Linked DNA regions of Homo sapiens: region 2 is linked to region 1. Evidence: promoter capture Hi-C in 16 types of primary human blood cells and fetal thymus (Javierre and others, 2016). All regions are on one chromosome and are shown on one strand. Each heading gives the region's core, a stretch centred on a gene start or on the middle of the fragment in contact. The rest is flanking DNA. Distances are from core to core; before and after follow the strand shown.

Region 1 (5,360 bases), core at 1,408-3,907:
CTTCCCCTAACACCCCTGCCCACAATTCCTACAATTTCTTTCCACTGCCATTCACATCTTTTTTTTAAGATGGAGTTTCACTCTTGTCGCCCAGGCTGGAGTGCAATGGTGCGGTCTCGGCTCACTGCAACCTTCACCTCCCAAGTTCAAGCGATTCTCTTGCCTCAGTTCCCTGAGTAGCTGGGATAACAGGCACCTGCCACCGCACCCAGCTAATTTTTGTATTTTTAGTAGAGACGGGGTTTCACCATTGTTGGCCAGGCTGGTGTCGAACTCCTGACCTCAGGTGATCCGCCTGCCTCGGCCTCCCAAAGTACTGGGATTACAGGCGTGAGCCACTGCGCCCAGCTATTTTTTTTTTTTTTTTAACATTAAGAAAATTTTAAGCCAAGCGCGGTGGCTCACGCCTATAATCCCAGCACTTTGGGAGGCCAAGGCAGGCAGATCACTTCAGGTCAGGAGTTCGAGACAAGCCTGAACAACTTGGTGAAACCCCATCTCTACTAAAAATACAAAAATTAGCTGGGCATGGTGGTACATGCCTGTAATTCCAGCTATTCGGGAGGCTGAGGCCGGAGAATGGCTTGAACCCAGGAGGCAGAGATTGCAGTGAGCCCAGATCACACCACTGCATTCCAGCCTGGGTGACAGAGTGAAAACTCTGTCTCAAAAAAATAAAAGAAGAAAAAGAAAATTTAAAAGGATTTTTAGGAAAATATTACTTATAAAATTACTAGATATTCATAAATTAAATAAAATTATTCTTTTTATAGCACACTGAAACAAAAGCCACAAACTCATCTGAAAAACTGTGAAACCACTCATCATTCATAGAGTATTACTAAACTGAATCTAAAGGTCAAAAAAAAGTACTGCAGTAAACCACATGATACGCAAAAGTAAAACACAACTTTTATCTTAGGCCCAGCCACCTGATATTAGAAGCTGGAGCGTTAAGCTGAGGTTGTCCACTTGCCCAAAAGAAATACAGTTTTCATTTGCCCATTCATTTTGTTTGCCCAATAATTCATTTAAACAAACAAGCAAATGTAATGAGCACCTACTATGTGTAAACACAGAGCTAGAGTGGGGGCAACACAACAATGAATAAGATGCAGCTTTTCCCTGGAAGATCTTGGTGGAGGACCAGATTGCAAATTCTTGCCTGGGCTTCAGAAATCAATTTAGTATCATGGCTGGGCGTAGTGGCTCACACCTGTAATCCTAGCACTTCGGGAGGCCGAGGTGGGCAGATCACCTGAGGTCAGAAGTTTGAGACCAGTCTGGCCAACATGGTGAAACCCCATCTCTACTAAAAAAAATACAAAAATTAGCCAGGCGTGGTGGCACGTGCCTATAATCCCAGGTACTGGGGAGGCTGAGGCAGGAGAAATGCTTCAACCTGGGGTGGGGAGCTGAGGTTGCAGTGAGCTGAGATAGAGTCACTTCACTCCAGCCTGAGCGAAAGAGCAAGACTCTGTCTTTAAAAAACAAAAAACAAGCATCGTTTCTCCTAGGAAGCCCTCTCTGATCCCCCAGGGCCCCTCTGAGACTGGGCCCCTCCAGGCACACCCCCATCACAGCACTGTGACACATTCTATAATTGCTTCTGCATATCTCCAGCCCCCTCACTGCTTGGGGACATCCAAGAGGACAAAGACTGCATCTGTCTCTTCACCGTGTCGCAGCCCCAGCACGTGGTAGTTGCTTAATAAATGTGGAAAGACTTAGCAGATGATGAAGTCAAACAAATTTCTGCCCAGTGAACATAAGGACCACAGTAGCAGTATGCTATAAGGAGACTGAGGCAGGAGTGATTAACTTCAGAGGCCATAGAAAGAAATGTTTAAGCTGAGTGTTGGAGAATAAATACAAATTCAGTAGGCAGAGAGCTCTCCATGAAGAGAATGCAGCCAACAGCAAAGGCACTGAGGCTCAACAGAGCAAAGTTTGCTTGAATGGAGGGAAGCAGGTCATCATGGCTGAAGCAGGATTTGAGGGGCTGGGAGAGCTGAGGCGGTGGGCAAAGGGGATAAAGAGGTGTACAAAGCCACACGTGAAGGGGCTTGTTTGTCGCATGCAGAAACGTGAGTCTCCTGAGGGTCCTCCGCCAGCCCAAGCATGAGGTAGTCAGCTCAGTGCTCCGGCCAGATAACCCAGGCTGTAGTACAGGCATGGACCCAGCGGAGGGACAGGCGGGACTGGAGAAAGGAAGAGGGATGGGTTCATGTGTGAGTCCAGAAAGAGATGCTAAGGGCCCAACCATGACAGTAGCAGTGAGGATGGCAATGAGAAAATCAATGTGAGGGATAGGTAGGAGATAAAATCAATAAGACTTAGTGGGTTTTTTTTAATGGCTAATGCATGAAGGCTAGGAAAATATATGTACAATCAATTGAAGTGCTCACATCTTTCAAGAGTTCATTATGTCAAAAACATTCTGCAGCTGTTTCATACAAGGAAATCTTTTTTTTTTTTTTTTGAGTTGGAGTCTTGCTCTGTCACCCAGGCTGAAGTGCAGTGGTGCCATCATAGCTCACTGCAACCTCTGCCTTCCAGGTTCAAGCCATTCTCCTGCTTCAGCCTCCTGAGTAGCTGGGATTATAGGTGCCCGCCACCACCCCAGCTAACTTTTTTTTTTTTTTTTGTAGAGACAGGGTTTCACCATGTTGGCCAGGCTGGTCTTGAACTCCTGACCCCAGGTGATCCACCTGCCTCAGCCTCCCAAAGTGCTGGGATTACAGGCGTGAGCCACTGTGCCCGGCCAGGAAATCATCATTTTTATTCCTATTTTAAAAACAACCTTCTAGTGGTCATTTCTCTCCACTTCCCCCAACTTTGTACCTCAGTACCTATTGGCAGTTATCAAACAGTCTTGTGCTGTTAGAAATAACTTTCCTGGCCAGGCTCGGTGGCTCATGCCTGTAATCCCAAAACTCTGGCAGGCCGAGGCCACAGGATGACTTGAGGCCAGGAGTTTGAGACCAGCCTGGGCAACATAGTGAGACCACATCTCTAATAAATAAAAAAAAGAATAATCATAAAATAAAAATTACCAAAAAAAGGACTTTTCACTTGAACATGTCTTATTTTCCCACAGGGAAAACTGAGAACTCAAAGAGAGCAATGATAGCATTTTAGACATCTTCATACCCACCCCATAGTTGTACGTACCATGGTGCCTTATACCTACCAGGTATCCAGTAAACAGCAATGGCTGGTTGACTGGTTGGTTGGTGTGTATCAGAAGGTGAGGAGACGGGTCAAAAGTCCTCCACTTAAAAAAAAAACACCTTTTTATTTTGGAATATTAGAGTTACAGGACAGCTGCAAAGATAATGCAAAGGTTTCCTATACAGCCTCACCTCCACCTTTGAAAATTGGTGATGGTAGAAGAAAAATAACCCTGAACCAGTGTGCCCTTGGGCAGGTCACACCACCTTAGCAGGCTCCAGTTTTATCACTGAAAGCAAGATAACAGGGTTCGCCTCACTGTCTTAGTCAGCTTGAACTGCTATAACAAAATACCATAGCTGGGCACGGTGGCTCACGCCTGTAATCCCAGCACTTCGGGAGGCCAAGGCGGGTGGATCACGAGGTCAGGAGATCGAGACCATCCTGGCTAACACGGTGAAACCCCGTCACTACTAAAAAAAATACACAAAAAAAATTAGCCGGGCGTGGTGGCGGGCACCTGTAGTCCCAGCTATTCAGGAGGCTGAGGCAGAAGAATGGTGTGAACCCAGTAGGCGGAGCTTGCAGTGAGCTGAGATAGCACCACTGCACTCCAGCCTGGGCGATAGAGCGAGATTCTGTCTAAAAAAAAAAAAGAAAAAAATTCCGTAGACTAGGTGGCTTATAAACAATGGGTATTTATTCCTCACAGTCCTGGGGCCTGGGAAGTCCAAGGTCAAGGCTGTGGCAGATTGAGTGTCTGCTGAGGGCCTGCTTCCTGGCTCATAGAGGCCATCTTCTCGCTGTGTCCTCACATGGCAGAAGGGGCAAGAGAACTCTTTTAAAAGGGCACCAATCCTATTGATGAGGGCTTCCACCCTCATGACCTAATTGCCTCCCAAAGGCTCCACTTCCAATGCCATCACACTGGGGGTTAGGTTTCAGCATAATCTGGGGAGGAGCACAGTCTGTAGCAGCCGCCTCCACACTCTTCACCCATCACTGTAATAAAATCACTGAGAAGAGGTCAGGCAGTGCCGTGTTCTCTGGGTCTAGAGCCTCTCCAGGATCAGGTCCCTCAGCAGGCAGGCAGCTGCTCCCTGTCTGCCTCCTCGGTGCCAAATCTGGGCTGCCAGTGTGTCTTTCATTGCCACAGCCCCAGAACTAACATGAGGCTCAGCATACAGGAAGGTAGACAGATACTACTTGATGGAAAGAAGGAGAGTGCATTAACTAGGGACTGTCAAATACTAAACAGTCAATTGGGGGAGGGGGGTACAGAGTGAGGTCCTGGAATTCTAGAGTTGGGTCTGTAATCCCAGCACTTTGGGAGGCTGAGGCGGGTGGATCACGAGGTCAGGAGATCGAGACCATCCTGGCTAACACAGTGAAACCCCGTCTCTACTAAAAATACAAAAAATTAGCCAGGCGTGGTGGCAGTAGTCCCAGCTACTCCGGAGGCAGGAGAATGGTGTGAACCCAGGAGGCGGAGCTTGCAGTGAGCCGAGATCGCACCACTGCACTCCAGGCTGGGCGACAGAGGGAGACGCCGTCTCAAAAAAATAAAATAAAATAAAATAAAATAAAATAAAATAAAATAAAATAAAATAAAATAAAATAAAATAAAATAAAATAAAATGATCTGTTAACACCCTCACTTGTTCACACAGTAGGACAGTAACTTGTCCAAGGTCAAATGCTACTAGGGGGCAGAATGGGGCCAAGTGCTTCTGTCACAGGGCAAGCTGCCCCTAATGTGCATGGAGATCTAGTGACAGTATTGGGTGCCAGAAAGTCCCAGCTCTAAACAGTCCTTCTGCCAAGGGTGATAAAACCGTCAGGCTGCTGTAATCAGATCTGAGCCTGGAAACCAAGGGCTTTTTCCCCAGCAGCACCAGGAGTAACCTGAGATCCAAGCTCCCTGGGAGATATTCCCCACCCCTACGCTGGCTGCCCACTGCCCCATCTCTCTGTAACTGGCTCTGCAGGGAGGGATACCCCAGGCCAGAAGGGAAAACCCACGAAATGTGTGAAGGATGGGACATTGCCCATCCAGTACCCCTCCTGCCCCCTTCTCTTCAATTCCCAGCCTCAAATGCAGGCCAGAACCCAGGGCTCCACCCACCTCTGGGAGATGGGCAGAACCCAGCATGATGGGGCAGTGAGGGCTGCTCCCTCCTCCTCTC
Region 2 (5,347 bases), core at 832-3,331, 270 kb before region 1:
TTTGAATTAGTTGCCAATTTAAATAATTAAGACATTTCACATAAATATCCAGAATATTCCCTTCCTCTTGAAAAGTCTGATCACATTCCTGCATGGATGGTTTGGCTGGGCTGGGAGCTACTACCTCCTCTGTACGCTAGGCAAGACCGTGGGCTCACTCATACAAATGGCCTGACCCCCATGGGTGCTTGAATTTGAGACTCCTGATACTTTGGGTGAATGTTGTGGATAGTTGCTTAGTTTATTTTATAATATATATTGTGAAAGGCCAGGCACAGTGGCTCACGCCTATAATCCCAGCACTTTGGGAGGCTGAGGCAGGCGGATCACCTGAGGTCGGGAGTTTGAGACCAGCCTGGCCAACATGGAGAAACCCCATCTCTATTAAAAATACAAAATTAGCCGGGCATGGTGGTGCATGCCTGTAATCCCAGCTACTCAGGAGGCTGAGGCAGGAGAATCACTTGAACCTGGGAAGCGGAGGTTGCGGTGAGCCGAGATCACACCATTGCACTCCAGCCTGGGCAACAAGAGGGAAACTCCGTCTCAAAAAAATAGTGGTAAAATATACATAACAAAATTTACCATTGTAACCATTTTTAAGGGTACAGTTCAGTGGCACTAAGCACATACATGCTGCTGTGCAGCCATCACCACCATCCATCTTAGAACTTTTTTCATTCTCCAAAATGGATATTCTGTACCCATTAAACAGTAACTCCCCATTCCCCACAGTCTCCAGCTCCGGCAACACCATTCTGCTTTCTATCTCTGTGAATCCGACTACTCCAGGTAGCTCATGTAAATGGAATCATACAGTATTTGTCCTTTTCTGACTGGCTTATTTCACTTAACGTAATGTCTTTAAGCTTCCCCATTGCATAGTTTCTGGCTCAGATCATTCTAGTGCTCATTTTACAGATGAGGAAGCTGAGGCCCCACGGGAGCCTGCCAGGGCAGAGGTAGAATTGGATCCTGGATCTTCTGCTTAGGACACTCTCCCTAACGTTGCCCCGTTGAGGTAAACTGAGGAATGGAGAGACCGATATGGCAGAACAGGAGGATATTTATTTTAAGATATGCACCGGCTCAGTGGATTCACATCCAAAAAGCTGAGCATTGAACAAAGACAGAGCGGGGTTTTTATAAGCGGGCTTACAAAAGCAAAACAAAGGCAGTTAACCATATAGTGCATAACTTGTGGCCTTGCATAGCTGGTGGCCTTGTAGCTGAGACAAAAGAAAAACAAGAACTAGCTAAATACAGACATTTGTAAAACATAGTTATGCTTAAGAAGCCAGGGAAAGGAGTAACAGTAAAGGAATTTGTCTTTCTTTTTTTTCCTTTCAACCTTGCTCTGGAGGAAGGAGTGGGTGTCTGGAGCCCATTCCTTTGGCCTTGGCTTTTCGGACAGCCTTATCTTATAACTGTCCTTGAAGTGAGCTGCTAAGCAGAGGAAAACTTGCTTCTTTTCTTTTTAACCCTTGCCTTGCCTGTTACTTTTCTCGGAGTGAATTAATGCATATTTATTTTTAAATTTCTGCCTCAGCCCTTCTTAGACCAGATCTCACCTTTCTTTTCTAGTAATGCAAGTGAGAGCAACATGTTCTTCACAGCAGCAAAGCCATCCCTGTTCATACAGGTTGTGGAGTTACCCTTCTCTCTGCCAATTTGAAGGGTTGCCCAACATTAATCTGGGAAGGGAAAAAGGCTGCCTCCTAATCAGAACAGTAATGAACATTAATAATCCATTCTCCTTCAAGAGACAAATTTAAAAAAACCCAGTAGCAATAAACTAAAAAAAAAAAAAAAAAAAAAAAAAAAAAAGGACAAACTCATCCTTTCCCCTCCACATATTTTTAGCTAACTCTTGAACCCAAGGAGGATTTTACCAATGGCTCTCCAGGAATTAGAGTTGTCACACCAGTCTCCTGTTGCCAGGAAATGAGGAGAGCTGTCCTCATCCACATCTGCAGTACCTAGAATAGCCCCCTCTGGCTCTCCAGAGATTGATTCATTAGGCAGGGTTGTGTTTAGGTGACGCCCACAAACGAGAACATTCATAGCAGCCATCATTTCTCAGTGAATGCGGTCCTGTAAATGCTGGCGATCTTGTAGCAGTGCTGATTAGCGAGTTGCTCCAACACCTCCTCATAATTTTTTCCTGCTCATCACTCACCTGCTTTGTCAAAATGAACAAGAAGGAAGCATGATTGAGCTGTGCACCGAGGCGGCAAGGAAGCCCTGGATGACCCTCTTAACAGGTTCATTTCTTCTTGAGCAAGCTTGTTAAAAGTTAGCATTGCTTAACACAGGCTAATTGGCTTCCCTTTCATTTTCTTCCATCCAAGTTTCTATCGGGAATCTTCCTCAGAATAAAATGCCAAGTTGGTTAGGCACTTTCTTATTTTAGTCTTGAGATTACGTTCTTGCTTCAGGAAAGAGTCAAGTTTAATTTTACTTCCAAATCAGCCCCTTCTTGTTACTCTAATCAACAAGACTTTTCTTGGCTGGGAGGTAGGGGTAGGGGAGGAAAGGAAGGGAGGAAAAAAAGCAAGAAAAACAACCTCCTAAACATCAACAATCATTTTTCTTGCATGTAAGATTATCAACTACTATAGATATAAACATTGTGGTCTAGCACTTCTTTATTTATGACTGTGGCAATGAAAATAACTTGGTACTTAACCAATTATTTTTAAGAGGTGGTAGCACAGTATTTCTTTGAATGTCGAAGAACAGAAATAGAGCCTTTAAGAATTTCTTCCATCTGCCACCCTGAATATTGACTGGGTAGAGATTTAAACAGCATGCATGCAATAGAATTGGCCTCATCGCCCCATCTGTAGAACACAAGCCTGTGAAATCCAGTGTGTCTGTGTGACATGCAATTAGCTCAATCCTGTTTCTCCAGCCAGGGCTCCACTTCATTGTTTGGCCATGGGATGGAGAACACCTTTGCTGGGTGGCAGGATTGACCCTGCTGTAAATAGTGACATTTATAGGAATGAGGACTTTGGATGCCGTGGGAATGACAGTGTGTTAGAAGGCTAAACACTGCATAATGAGGTTGATTGGGAATGCCTTTCAACAGCAGTTTGCTCATTTTAGGGACTTCTCATCACAGGGATAAACAGGAAGCAAAATCTGGGGTATTGGTTTTGTGGTTTCAAATGTCTATTTGAGTTGGAAACTGCTCAAAATGGAAATGGGCTCTTTCTGGAGGTAGCACAGACATCACTTCGAGAGGAGATCCAGAGATGATTAAGATACAGTCCTCGACACAAGGAGCTCCAAGATTTGTAGGGGAGGCAGACGAGTCATTGAAATTGAAAAAATAAAACACCTCGCTGGCAAGGAGTTTGCTCTTGACAAGAAGAAATCAGTCTCTAGACTAATTCTCTTCCTATTGCTGAGACTAGAGCCCTGCCTTGGAATTTGATTTGGCCCAAGGTCAAGAAAATCTCAAGATCATGGGTCCTTGTATAGCTGGGATAGGGGTGGGTCAATGACTCTGCTGTTGGAGAAGGCACTGAGGTAAGGCCGGTTTTTTACGTACCAGGTCCCCAGCTGTGCTCTAGAAACTGCAGAAACAGAACAAAGCATAAGATTTGAAAACAAACAAATACACTCTGCACGTTGGAAGCAGGAGAAATCTTGGCATAGTATGCTGTTGTGGAGTGAGGGAGATTTTTCTCTTTCTTTATATAGATTCAGGCAGGATTGTGTCTGAGACCAGCACTACGTCTGAATCATTGTGAGTCACTGGGAGGGAGGTATAACTGTGCCCTGTAAGCGGGTCTCAGGGTGGAGAATCACTCTGAAGGATTAAAGGTGGGGCCCTTGGAAAACGATGAATCCTGAAGCAGAAAGCAAAGCTAGCCACTTCAATGCACTTTTAATGGGGTTAGCACTTTTCATTTTCCTAGGATTCTGGGAATGATTCATTTAGCGTTTGGTGTTAAGGTTCTTCCCTCCCCACATTTCAATTTCATATACATTTTCCCTTCCATCTAAAATGTCAGAAAAGCCTGTTACACAGCCTGTGTCACTGTATTGTGGAGAATGTAGGGACAGGGCAGCAGTGGGAGAATTGGCCTGGCCTGCATCAGCTCTCTGCGGAGGTCAGCTTGATGGCAGTGATCCTGGGATGTCAGTCAGCCTCCACTCCCTGGACCTATTTTCCCCAAATTACCAGGGAAAGGTGAGCCTTAAAAAGAAGATCATGAACTGGGTGCAGTGGCTCACACCTGTAATCCCAGCACTTTGGAAGGCCGAGGCAGGTGGATCACCTGAGGTCAAGAGTTCAAGACCAGCCAGGGCAACATGGAGAAACCATATCTCTACTAAAAATACAAAAATCAGCTGGGTGCGGTGGTGCGTTCCTGTAATCCCAGCTACTTGGGAGGCTGAGGCAGGAGAATCACTTGAACCTGGGAGGCGGAGGTTGCAGTGAGCTGAGATCGTGCCACTGCACTCCAGCCTGGGTGACAGAGTGAGACTCTGTTTCAAAAAAAAAAAAAAAAAAGAATCATAAAACACTTGGGTCACATCACAAATACTCAAAAAACAGGGCAAGTGCATTCTTAGAGTTTTCTAAGCAGAGAGGTTTTAACTGTTCCTCTTCACCCCCGATTCCCCTGTCCTATCTATTTGCACTGGGCAATTGCAGCCACAATTCTGTTCTCCCTGGGAGCCCCACAAAGCTATCTCAGCCACCAGCCAGCACCTCATTATTCCTTCTCTGCTGCTTTTGCTCCAGTAGCATTGCCCCATTCACTGCCCGTATCAAAGGCACCCACATTGGGCTGCCCACATCTGTTGCTGCCAATACACTGCAAACTGACCTGCCTCTCCCCTGTCCCAAGTCCCTCAAGGGATTCAGCACACAGCTCCTTGGTTTGGCCCCTCCTTAGAAGCCTGTCTCTCCAGCTCTCATTCAGGGGGCTGTGGCAACTGACACGGAAGACATTCAGGGAGGCAGACACTGTTAGTCCTTAGAAGAGTTACTTTTCTTATGCATTGGCTTCCATTAAAGTTCAAACTTTAACATAGACCATATTTTCCTTCCTATGGTCCCAAGACCCTCTATGATCTGAATCCCACCTTCTTTTCCAGCCGCATCTCTCCCCACCCGCTTCACTCTCTTGTGGCTTCCTAAACCTGCCATGCAGTCTCTCACACACTAGTCTTTGTAAATACTGCTCCCTCGCCTGGCAGACTTTTCCTTTAGCCTCGCCCACTTTTCCCTTATTTGGACTGAGTCCTACTCATCCTTCTGGCTTCAGCTGTGATACCACTTTTTCTAGGAAGCTACCCCTGTCTATTCCCAATATAGGAGAAGGTT

Evidence for each region. The method cuts DNA at HindIII sites, captures the fragments that hold promoters and counts their contacts. A CHiCAGO score of 5 or more calls a contact.
Region 2: the fragment with the promoter of LEMD1-AS1 here is called in contact with a fragment that was not itself captured in region 1 in 1 of 17 cell types (naive B cells); the score reaches 5.1 in naive B cells.

Annotation. Positions count from the first base shown.
Region 1 is chr1:205,643,529-205,648,888 of GRCh38, forward strand. No RefSeq gene overlaps it. Among named protein-coding and RNA genes, the nearest start is that of ELK4, 14 kb to the left of the region's middle. The HindIII fragment of the contact is 8,490 bases long and covers 1-5,360 here.
Region 2 is chr1:205,371,171-205,376,517 of GRCh38, forward strand. It overlaps LEMD1-AS1 (LEMD1 antisense RNA 1), which reads left to right and starts at 2,082. Exons shown (of 4, transcript NR_038425.1): 1 at 2,082-2,264. RefSeq lists silencers at 1,211-1,505, 5,051-5,345. The HindIII fragment of the contact is 1,416 bases long and covers 868-2,283 here.